Linked DNA regions of Homo sapiens: regions 2, 3 and 4 are each linked to region 1. The links are contacts of gene promoters, found by promoter capture Hi-C in blood cells and fetal thymus (Javierre and others, 2016). All regions are on one chromosome and are shown on one strand. Each heading gives the region's core, a stretch centred on a gene start or on the middle of the fragment in contact. The rest is flanking DNA. Distances are from core to core; before and after follow the strand shown.

What was found. The method cuts DNA at HindIII sites, captures the fragments that hold promoters and counts their contacts. A CHiCAGO score of 5 or more calls a contact.
Region 2: a contact is called between a fragment that was not itself captured here and the fragment with the promoter of L3MBTL2 in region 1, in 1 of 17 cell types (M1 macrophages). The highest score is 5.1, in M1 macrophages.
Region 3: a contact is called between a fragment that was not itself captured here and the fragment with the promoter of L3MBTL2 in region 1, in 10 of 17 cell types (naive CD8 T cells, naive CD4 T cells, monocytes and 7 more). The highest score is 9.6, in naive CD8 T cells.
Region 4: a contact is called between a fragment that was not itself captured here and the fragment with the promoter of L3MBTL2 in region 1, in 1 of 17 cell types (M2 macrophages). The highest score is 5.2, in M2 macrophages.

What each region holds. Positions count from the first base shown.
Region 1 is chr22:41,204,041-41,206,625 of GRCh38, reverse strand. It overlaps L3MBTL2 (L3MBTL histone methyl-lysine binding protein 2), which reads right to left and starts at 1,314. Exons shown (of 17, transcript NM_031488.5): 1 at 1,240-1,314. The coding sequence starts at 1,263. RefSeq lists an enhancer at 1-470. The HindIII fragment of the contact is 3,698 bases long and covers 1-2,585 here.
Region 2 is chr22:40,836,423-40,839,007 of GRCh38, reverse strand. The region is part of intron 5 of ST13 (ST13 Hsp70 interacting protein); the gene reads left to right. Among named protein-coding and RNA genes, the nearest start is that of SLC25A17, 18 kb to the right of the region's middle. The HindIII fragment of the contact is 2,318 bases long and covers 127-2,444 here.
Region 3 is chr22:40,856,871-40,859,455 of GRCh38, reverse strand. It overlaps XPNPEP3 (X-prolyl aminopeptidase 3), which reads right to left and starts at 2,308. Exons shown (of 10, transcript NM_022098.4): 1 at 2,211-2,308. The coding sequence starts at 2,274. RefSeq lists enhancers at 2,003-2,462, 2,473-2,585, 2,320-2,585. The HindIII fragment of the contact is 725 bases long and covers 937-1,661 here.
Region 4 is chr22:40,872,930-40,875,514 of GRCh38, reverse strand. The region is part of intron 2 of XPNPEP3 (X-prolyl aminopeptidase 3); the gene reads right to left. It overlaps LOC124905124 (a long non-coding RNA gene), which reads left to right. Exons shown (of 3, transcript XR_007068111.1): 3 at 1-168. Among named protein-coding and RNA genes, the nearest start is that of DNAJB7, 12 kb to the right of the region's middle. The HindIII fragment of the contact is 272 bases long and covers 1,178-1,449 here.

The DNA of each region.
Region 1 (2,585 bases), core at 65-2,564:
GGGGTTTCACCATGTTAGCCAGGATGGTCTCGATCTCCTGACCTCGTGATCTGCCCGCCTCGGCCTCCCAAAGTGCTGGGATTACAGGCGTGAGCCACCGCACCCAGCAAGGAAACAATTCAAATATAGGTACCCTTGTCAGGCAGGGTGACAGAGACCACCTATAGTCCCAGCTACTTAGGAGGCTGAGGTGTAAGGATTGCTTGAGCCCAAGAGTTAGAGGCTGCAGTGCGTTGTCATCACGCCTGTGAGTAACCACTGCATTCCAGCCAGGGCAACATAGGAACACCCCGTCTCTTAAATATAAGGTGCCCAGAAACCAAATGATTAAAGGATGAGGCGGGGTGCAGTGGCTCATGCCTGTAATCCCAGCACTTTGGGAGGCCGAGGTGAAGCAGACAGATCACCTGAGGTCAGGAGTTCGAGACCAATCCGACCAACATGGCAAAACCTCGTCTCTACTAAAAATACAAAAATTAGCCGGGTGTGGTGACACATGCCTGTAATCCCAGGAACATGGGAGATGGAGACAGAATTGCTTGAACCCGGGAGACGGAGGTTGCAGTGAGCCGAGATCGCGCCACTGCACTCCAGCCTAGGTGACAGAGCAAGACTCCGTCTGAAAGAAAAAAAAAAAAGGATGAGTGGGTTCCAGGTTGCAGTACAGTGTGAAAAGCATAACAGGCAAAGTTTCAGAGGCGGACAGACTTAGTGCCAATCTCCTTCACTTTCCAGCCGGGGTAACTTCCTGGGGTGTCGCACCACCTCTAAGCCTCAGTGGCTTGAACGACAAAGACGAAAGAATAATACATGATTGCTGTGAGTGTACTGGAAGATAATGCACGTGAACGTTACAGACAAGGAGTGATGTTCACCCAACTTTAATCTCCCTTCACTTCCCACCTCATGTAACAGGCCTCACAAGCCCTAAACAACACAGCCACGAGACAAGCAGGATAAGGAAGATTCAGGAGCTCTCAGATCCTAAACCTAGTTCCCTTTCCCCCAGGCCAGGGACGGCTGTTCCTCCCTGAACTCCTCGCCGAACGTTGGCCCCAGCAGGAGAGGGGCAAAAAGTAACGTCAATTGCCTCTGCCCCTGGCTCAGTTTAACTACCTCAGTTTATCCATCCTCCCACCCTCCACCCTCCAGGCGTCGCTAAAAGCCCTAAAGAAGGGCCCACGGAGCGAGGCTCTCGGAGTTCCCTTTCCCAGTCACGCTAAGTCCTCGCCTTCTCACCTCAATACTCCGGGGCTTCTCCATGAGACCTCAGTTTCGCCAAGCGTCACCAGGTGCAGGAAGCCATATTGGCCTGCCCCGTCGCTCTCCGCGAGAGCACTCATTGGTCGCCTCCCTGAGCCGCGGGCCAATCACGCTGCAGGAAGGAGGAAAAGCCGGTTCCGTGCCTGCTCCCGCCATTCTCTCCCTGTGGGCGGGGAAGCCGCGGGCGGTTATGGGAATTGTAGTTCGCATGTGTGCAGGGTGAGTCGTTACCATAGCGACGTGGAAACCAGGGGCGCTGGAAACCTGGTGCGCCTCACGCCGAGTGTTCCAATTACGCCAACCTCTTGACTTCACTGGATGTTATTCTTCCCTAAACGGTTATTGAGCACCTATGATAGTCACTGTTCCAGACTCCAGGAATAACCTCGTACTCTCCCGGGTTAGATATTTAAGGTGCCCTTTTGCTGGGATGCATAGCAGAGGGACTCATTTCCAACTCAGGCAGAAACTGGACTACTCCAGATTAAAAAGAAAAAAAAAAGGAAGAAACTGGAATACTCTGTGTGTGTGTGTGTGTGTGTGTGTGTGTGTGTGTGTGTGTGTGTGTGTGTTTTCTTGAGACGAAGTCTTGCCCTGTCGCCCAGGCTGGAGTGCCGTGGCGCGATCTCGGTTCACTGCAACCTACGCCTGCCAGGTTCAAGCGATTCTCCTGCCTCAGCCTCCCAAGTAACTGGGACTACAGGCGCCCACCACCAAGCCCGGCTAATTTTTGTATTTTTTAGTAGAGACGGGGTTTCACCAGGCTGGTCTTGAACTCCTGACCTCGGGATCCACCCGCCTCGGCCTCCCAAAGTGCTGGGATTACAGGCGTGAACCACCGCGCCCGGCTGAAACTGGAATATTCTTTTTCTCAATACTGTAAATGTCCAGCCTGCTCAAAATCTTACAACATTCCTCCTTCACCACTCTCTCCTGGGTAAAAACCTCGAATCTGAGGCTCTCTGCCTCATCCCGTTAGGGTTTCCCACAACCTCCTTAGACACCCTGAGTTCTAGGTGCTGTTGTGGAGCTTTGCAAACATCTTTTCAAACCCTTAGACATCCTATCACCGTTTGAAAGAAGAGGAAGTGGTGGCTCTTCACCACTTCAGGTTTAGGCACTTTCCAAGATCACACAGGATTGGGATTCCAAATTTAGTACAGATTCCTTCCCTATGCCATGCCGTGTCCCAGTGAATTAATTGAGACTCTAAATGCAATATGTGGAGGCTGAATACATATAAAATATATGCCTAAATTTGAAGTCCGCCGTGGAGATGTCAAACTCTTCCTAGAGGTCTTTCTTTCCTTCAACCCCTTCCA
Region 2 (2,585 bases), core at 36-2,535, 370 kb after region 1:
ATTATAGACCTGCCAGACTAAGATCCTGTATTTTACTTCTCCAATCTTGTTTTCTCCAGTCAGACTTTACTGTTCTAGAATTTTTTTTTTTTTTTTATTTATGCTATACTGTTTCTCTGGAAAGCTTTTCTTCACATATTTCAACTTTTAATTCATACCTATCAGTTGTTCCCAGCCATTGCTCTTCTGTACCATTCCTTTTCATCGCACGAAACTTTTGCTAATTTCCCTACCACCTAAATTTTAAGAGACAGAGTCTTACTCTGCCACTCAGTTTGGAGTGCAGTGGCATGGTCATGGCTCACTGCAGCCTCAAGTTTTGTAGGCTCAAGCAATCTTCCTGAGTAGCTGGCAATACAGGTGCCTGCCACCATGCCTGGCTAATTATTATCTCTTTTTTTTTTTTTTGGTAGAGATAGGGTTTCATCCTGTTGCCCAGGCTCGTCTTGAACTCCTGCCCTCAAGCAGGCCTCCCAAGCTCAGCATCTGAAAGTGCTAGGATTACAGGTGTGAGGCACTGTGCCCAGCCCATTTTAAAATTTACTGTCTCGGCAATATGTAACAAAAGGAAAATGAGGCTATCACCTAATCATGTTTTTGTTTTCTCACTTTTTTCTGAACTCTCTGTTCATGTGCCTTTGTAAATTTAATCTAGTTCTGATTTTAGAATTTATGCAATTGTATAGTGTATTCTAAAGGATAAAAGATTAGTATTCTAAAGCAGGGGTTGTGAATCCAAGCTCCACCAAGGTTGGTGAAGGCAGTTTTGTTTGGAGAATGTAATTAAAACCTGGAGTATGGAGCCAGAGTGGTATGGTTTGAATCCCACGTCTGGCACTTAACTGTGGCTGCTTTCCCACTACAACAGCATCATTGAGTAGTTATGACAGATTGTATGGTCTGCAGAGATTAAAATAATTCTTATTTGGCCCTTTCCAGAAAACGTTTACCAACTCCTGAACTAAATGTATGGAGGAGCCATTTGTTTAGTTGGGAAGATACAGATTGGGAATAGATTTGGAAATGGGCTAGGAAATGGGAATTCAGTTTTTCGGTTTTGAGTGGGCGTGGTGGTTCACACTTAACAATCCCAGCACTTTGAGGGGCCGAAGCGAAAGGATCTCTTGAGTCCAAGAGTCCAAGATCAGCCTGGTCAACACAGTGAGACTCCATCTCTTAAACACAAAAAATTAGCTGGATGTGGTAGCACGTTTCTGTAATATGAGCTACTTGAGAGGCTGAGATGGGAGGTTCCCTTGAGGCTGGGAGGATCCTTTGAGCCCAGGAAGTTGAGGGTGCAGTGAGCTGTGATTGTGTCACTGCACTCCAACCTGGGTGACAGAGCAAGACCTTTTTTTTTTGAGATGGAGTTTCAGTCTTGTTGCCCAGACTGGAGTGCAATGGCACGATCTTGGCTCACCGCAACCTCCGCCTCCCGGGTTCAAGCGATTCTCCTGCCTCAGATTCCTGAGTAGCTGGGATTACAGGCATGCGCCACCATATGCGGCTAATTTTATATTTTTAGTAGAGACGGGGTTTCTCCACGTTGGTCAGGCTGGTCTTGGTATTTCTCCATGTTGGTCAGGCTGGTCTTGAACTCCCGACCTCAGGTGATCCACCTGCCTCGGCCTCCCAAAGTGCTGAGATTACAGGCGTGAGCCACTGTGCCCAGCCAAGACCCTGTCATAAAAAAAATTTAGGTTTTGAACATGGTAGGTCTGAGTTGTTTATTAGACATTTAAGTGTAATTACCTATAATAGATACCTGTAGTAGTAATTAATAAGACTGAGCATTTTTCTGTGTTGTTTTTGTGAGTTCTTTTCAAGTCCTTTACTCATTCGCTAACTGGCTAAGTATCTTTCACAGTGAATTGTGACATTTATTTAAAAATTTCTGTGTTCGGCCTGGCACAGTGGTAATCCCAGCTACTCAGAAGGCTGAGTTGGGGGGATTACTGGAGCCCAGGAGTTCGAGAGCAGCCTAGGTGACACAGTGAGGCCCAGTCTCTAAAAAATTTTTTTTAATTAGCCAGGTTTAGTGTTGTGGGCTTGTATTCCCAGCTACTCAGGAAGCTGAGGTGGGATGATCACTTCAGCCTGTGAGCTATGATCATGCCACTGTACTCTAGCCTATGTGAGAGTTAGACCCTGTCTCTTAAAAAAAATTCTGTATTTGTCTTGCCTCCCCAAGATTTAGACTTTGTGCAAAGAACTCTTCTGATTCTATAGGGTGTTTTATTTGTTGAATGACATAAGGGATTAGTAAAGAAGCTAACTATGAGAATAGGACAAAATGAATTAAAGTATAGGTTATGGTCTTTTATGAATTCTAGTTTTCTTGAATTTTTGTACCATTTCTTTGAATTCAAATAATAAGCATATTGTTGTTTTCTTTTAAAATCAGCCCTGTGAAGTTAACATGGGTTACTTTTCCTTTCTAAGCTTAATTTTTTCTTTTTAATTTAATGGATAAAAGAAAATCAATGGAATAAAATTAATTTATCTTATCCTTTAAATTGATTTTATCTTTTTACTTTTTTCTTTTATTTTTATTTTTATTTTTTTGAGACGGAGTCGTGCTGTGT
Region 3 (2,585 bases), core at 50-2,549, 350 kb after region 1:
CTAAAGCAAAAATCAGTGTCTCAGAAAATTTAAGAATGTAATGACATGCCCTGTAGTCCATTTCTTCACTCTTAACAGAAAACCAAAAATTTAGATTTAATCATCTTACTCAATAGCTTAAAATTCCTCAAAGTTTTCCCACCATCTAAAGGAAAAAGCTAATTGTTTGCTTAACATAATATACAAGGCCCTCCACGAGCCAGCCACCAGCTTTTTTCCCAACTTGATTTCCTATCAGCTCCTTGTACTCATCTTATGCTCTAGCCCAACTTCTCCCAAAATCTGTTCCAGGGATACCAGTTCAAGATTCATCACAGAAAAGGGGTCCATGGTCAAATACATTTTTACACATTTTGCAAATTACTGCGGAACACATCTCTCAGAAACCTAGACTATTAAGGGCTGGGTGCAGTGGCTCACACTTATAATCGCAACACTTTGAGAAGCTGAGGTGAGAGTTCAAGTTTACTTTGGGCAACATGGCAAGACCCCATCTCCAAAAAAAGAATTAAACTATTATGTACATTATGAAAGGCAGCATTCCCCAAAAGTATTTGATCACAGAATCATTTTCGTGTAATGCCTACTATTTTGTTTGAGAACATCTTTCAAAAAATCTTTTCCTAAGCCGGGCGCGGTGGCTCACGCCTGTAATCCCAGCACTTTGGGAGGCCGAGGCGGGTGGATCACGAGGTCAGGGGTTCAAAACCAGCCTGGCCAAGATGGTGAAACCCCATCTCTACTAAAAACACATAAATTAGCCAGGCGTGGTGGCGGGCGCCTGTAATCCCAGCTACTCGGGAGGCTGAGACAGGAGAATCGCTTGAACTCGGGAGGTGGAGGTTGCAGTAAGGCAAGAGATCGCGCCACTGCACTCCAGCCTGGGCGACAAGAGCAAGACTCTGTCTCAAAAAAAAAAAAAAAAAAAAAAAAGCTTCTCCAGCCATACTAAACGATTGCAACGCTTAGTGCTGGCCACTCCGTTTTAGAGTTCTGTGCCTTTGCAAGTGTTCCTTCTGGTAGTATGGCTCCTTTAGTCAGGCTGGGGAGAGCCTTTCAAATAAAAGCAAATTCCAGGCCTGGGGCGGTGGCTCAGAGAGGAGGGTGGATCGCTTGAGGCCAGGAGTTCGAGATCAGCTTGGCCAACGTGGCAAAACCTGGTTTCTACTACAATTACAAAAATTAGCCAGGCGTGGTGGCACACGCCTATAATCCCAGCTACCTCGGGAGGCTGAGGCACGAGAATTGCTTGAACTCAGGAGGCAGAGGTTGCAAATGAGCAGAGATTGCCACTGCACTCCAGTCTGAGCAACAGAATGAGAGCCTGTCTCAAAAAAAGACTGAAAAATTGCACATCTTTCTTTTCACCTAATCCCACGGAGAGTTGTCTTTCTGCAGCTTTACTATGAGAACTGAAGAACAAGTTCTGTGCACTGGACAATAACTTTTTATTTTTTATAGTAAGAAGTCGATGTAATTAACATTCCATTTTAAATGAATTCAAGTATATCAACATAAACATATGCCAAGACATAGCTTTGATGTCAAATACCATACGTTCTGGTTCACACATTGTTCATATATTGACCCAAAAAACTGAAATACGATCCAATGGCAGATCCGCCTGCAAGGAAGGTGATTCAGTTTTCACTGATTAAGCTTTATGTTCATCAGATTAATTGCTCGCAATAGAGGACACCCTACAAAAAATTATTCTCCTTATCCTTCGTCTTGTCTTTGCAAACAGGACTTTCAGACACAGAACGCCCCAGAAGTATTTCGAAACAGTTACCTCTCCTAAGAGGAGCTGCTGAAAGAATTTGTTACTAAACATGCTTCGTGTATATTCTGGAGCAAGCTCTCACGCCTAACAGAAACAAGAGCTACTTGATGTGAGACACTTTGTCACTTAAGTGTGATAATTGCCACAACTTCGGAGTCCGAGTAACTTGGAAGACAGCCCCTCTGGGGGATGGCACACTTTTCTCTCTGCAGTCATTTCGGCTTCACAAAATACCTCAACGGTAGAGAACACACTGGGCCCACCCCTTTCCAGGAGCAGCCGGTATAGAAGAAATCCGCGGAGCACAGAGGGTTGGGGAGCGGAGGCCCCACCAGGAGAAGGGTCAGCCGAACCAGGGATCGCCTGAGACCAACTTGGGTCCCTCCAGGGGACACCATGGGAGGAGACCGTGGGAGAAGAGTCTAACCTGAGAGGCCGCGGACGTTTGCTACAGCGGGAACCAGCTTGGGGGCTGAGAGCAGCCAAGGCATTACGGCCTAACTCACGCGTCGGGAAGAGAAAGAGGGTAACGACGGGGAACGCAACCGCCTGCAGGGCCGCGTCGCCAGGAAACCGGGCCAGCCGCACCTCCCCTTCCGGCGGAGGCGGCTCGCGGGCCTTCCTTGCGCGGCGGCGCAGGTTGTGACGTCATGCCCCGAGCTGGGACCGACCCTCCGGCTCCACGCCCTTTTTTTTTTTTTTTTTTAGGTCCCGGGCGTTGAGCTCTACTCAGTGCACGCAGCCACACAATATGCTCTTGGACGTCGCCCCCTGGAGGGGATGTTATCTCCCGCCTCCTTGA
Region 4 (2,585 bases), core at 64-2,563, 330 kb after region 1:
TTATTCATCTATAAATTTATTTACATAGAGACTACATTATTTATTCTGCATTAAAATTGAATCAGGAGATGAAGACAAGAGGAAACATTTAATCACTATGAATACAGTGATTTAAAAAAATTATATAAGTAAGCCCTGGCAACAAAGTGAGATCCCATCTCTACAAAAATTTAAAAAATTAGCCAGGCATGGTGGCTTATGCCTGTAGTCCTAGCTACTTGGGAAACTGAAGTGGGAGGATCGCTTGGGAGGTCGAGACTGCAGTGAGATATGATCATGCCGCTGCAGTTTAGCCTGGGAGACAGAGCAAGACCCCATCTCAAAAAAAGCAAAAACAAAAACAAATAAAATTACATAGGTACATTGGGGTGAGAAAATAAAATATATTACTTTATAAAACAGGTGGGCTTCATGGTGAAGTACTTATAGAAAAAGTAGACCTTCAACTTAAATTTAAAACCTGTAGGATACAAAACTTTTAGTCTACTATTCTATCAGGTATAATCTATTAAAAAAGTGTTGAAATGGTTAGATAAATGTAACGTCATCACTTATTGATGGTGGTGATGATGATAAAGATGTGAATGAATTTAAGGACTGAGTGACTGGGGATGAGACTACAGAGGCATGTGGAAGGCACATTCTCTGCTTTAAAACATGACCAATGGCCACAGAACTGGCTTGTCCCCTTAAGTCATCAGGCATCTCATGCACCTAGCTAAATGAGTACCCACTAGGTTAGTGGTGTATGTGAGAAACGCCCGGGGAGCTCTTCAAAACACATGTTCCGGTTGGGTATGGTGGCTCATGCCTATAATTCCAGCACTTTGGGGGGCCAAGGTGGTAGAATTGCTTGAGTCCAGGAGTTCAAGACCAGCCTGGGCAACATAGTGAGACCTTATCTCTATAAAAAATATAAAAATTAGCTGGGCATGATGGTGCATGCCTGTAGTCCCAGCTATTCAGGAGGTTGAGACAGGAAGATTGTTTGACCCCCGGAGGTCAAGACTCCAGTGAGCCATGATCTCGGCACTGTACTCCAACCTTGGAAACAGAGTGAGACCCTGTCTCAAAAAAAACAAAAACAAAAACACATGTTCTAAGCCCTCCCTTTGAGATTCTCATTCAACAACTCTATTTATAGAGTCCTAGCACGTATGTATATTTTGAAAAAGCTTACCCAACAGTCTAGGCAGGTTCAAACCACTTCCAATTTCTGTTATTTCTTGATTCCTTTTAATTTTTTAAATTCTTCTGAGATAGGGTAACACTCTGTCACCCAGGCTAGAGTGCAGTGGCGCAATCATGGCTCACTACGGCCTTGACCTCCTGGTCTCAAGCATCATTTTATTTATTTTTTATTTTTCTTCCTAACTCCCCAAAGTTGTTATCAAGCATCATTTTAATCTTTTAAATAGTATAAAAATCTTACCACCACCAAAATAAGCTTTGTCTTTTAGATATTATTAAAATCAACCATATTTAACAAGTTTTAAAAATAAAATGCATCCCTTGCTCAAGAGACGGCTACAATTAAACTATCACTGAAAGATGGGCAGCTGATTTTGAAACTCTTAAGGGAAAAAGATTTGGGGATTATTATCTATAACCCACTCTAGAATCAATCATTTCATCATTTTAAATATTATATTCACTGTAACTGTACTGTCTCTGCCATTATATTTATTTATTTATTTTATTTCTATTTTATTTTATTTTTGAGACGGTCTTGCTCGGTTGCCTAGGCTGAAGTGGAGTGGCACAATCTCAGCTGACTGCAGCCTTGACTTCCCAGGCTCAAACAATCCTCCTACTTCAGCTTCCCAAAGTGCTGGGATTATAGGCGTAGCTAGGACTACAGACATCTGTCAACACACTCAGCTAATTTTGCTTACTTTTTTGCAGAGATAAGGTCTCACTACGTTGCCCAGGCCTCCCAAAGTGCTGGGATTATAGGCGTGAGCCACCGCACCTGGCTTCTGCCATTATAGTTGACGATAGAGATGAAACGGTAAATGGTGAAAGCATCGTCTTATATTTCATGCCACACAGTTGCATTCTGATTATTTCCCTAAAAATCTGTTTGCTGCTGTAGTTGAAAACCAAGAAGTGGGCCAGGCATGGTGGCTCACGCATGTAATCCCAGCACTTTGGGAGGCCAAGGCAGGCAGATCACAAGGTCAGGAGTTCAAAACCAGCCTGACCAATATGGTGAAACCCCCTCTCTACTAAAAATACAAAAATTAGCCAGGTGTGGTGGCGCACACGTGTAGTCCCAGCTACTCTGGAGGCTGAGGCAGGAGAATTGCTTGAATCTGGGAGGCGGAGGTTGCAGTGAGCCGGATCACGCCACTGCACTCCAGCCTGGGCGACAGAGCGAGACTCTGTCTCAAAAAAAAAAAAAAAAAAAAAAAAAGAAAAAGAAAAAGAAAAAGAAAACAACCATGAAGTGGTTCTACATATGTCAGACAAGTTATTCTGACAAGCCCAACTCCCTGAGTAGCCCTTTTTAAACCTAGCATTCCAAACTATACCACATATTCTAAAACTAATTTTAAGAATGTAAAAATTTTAGAAATAATGCT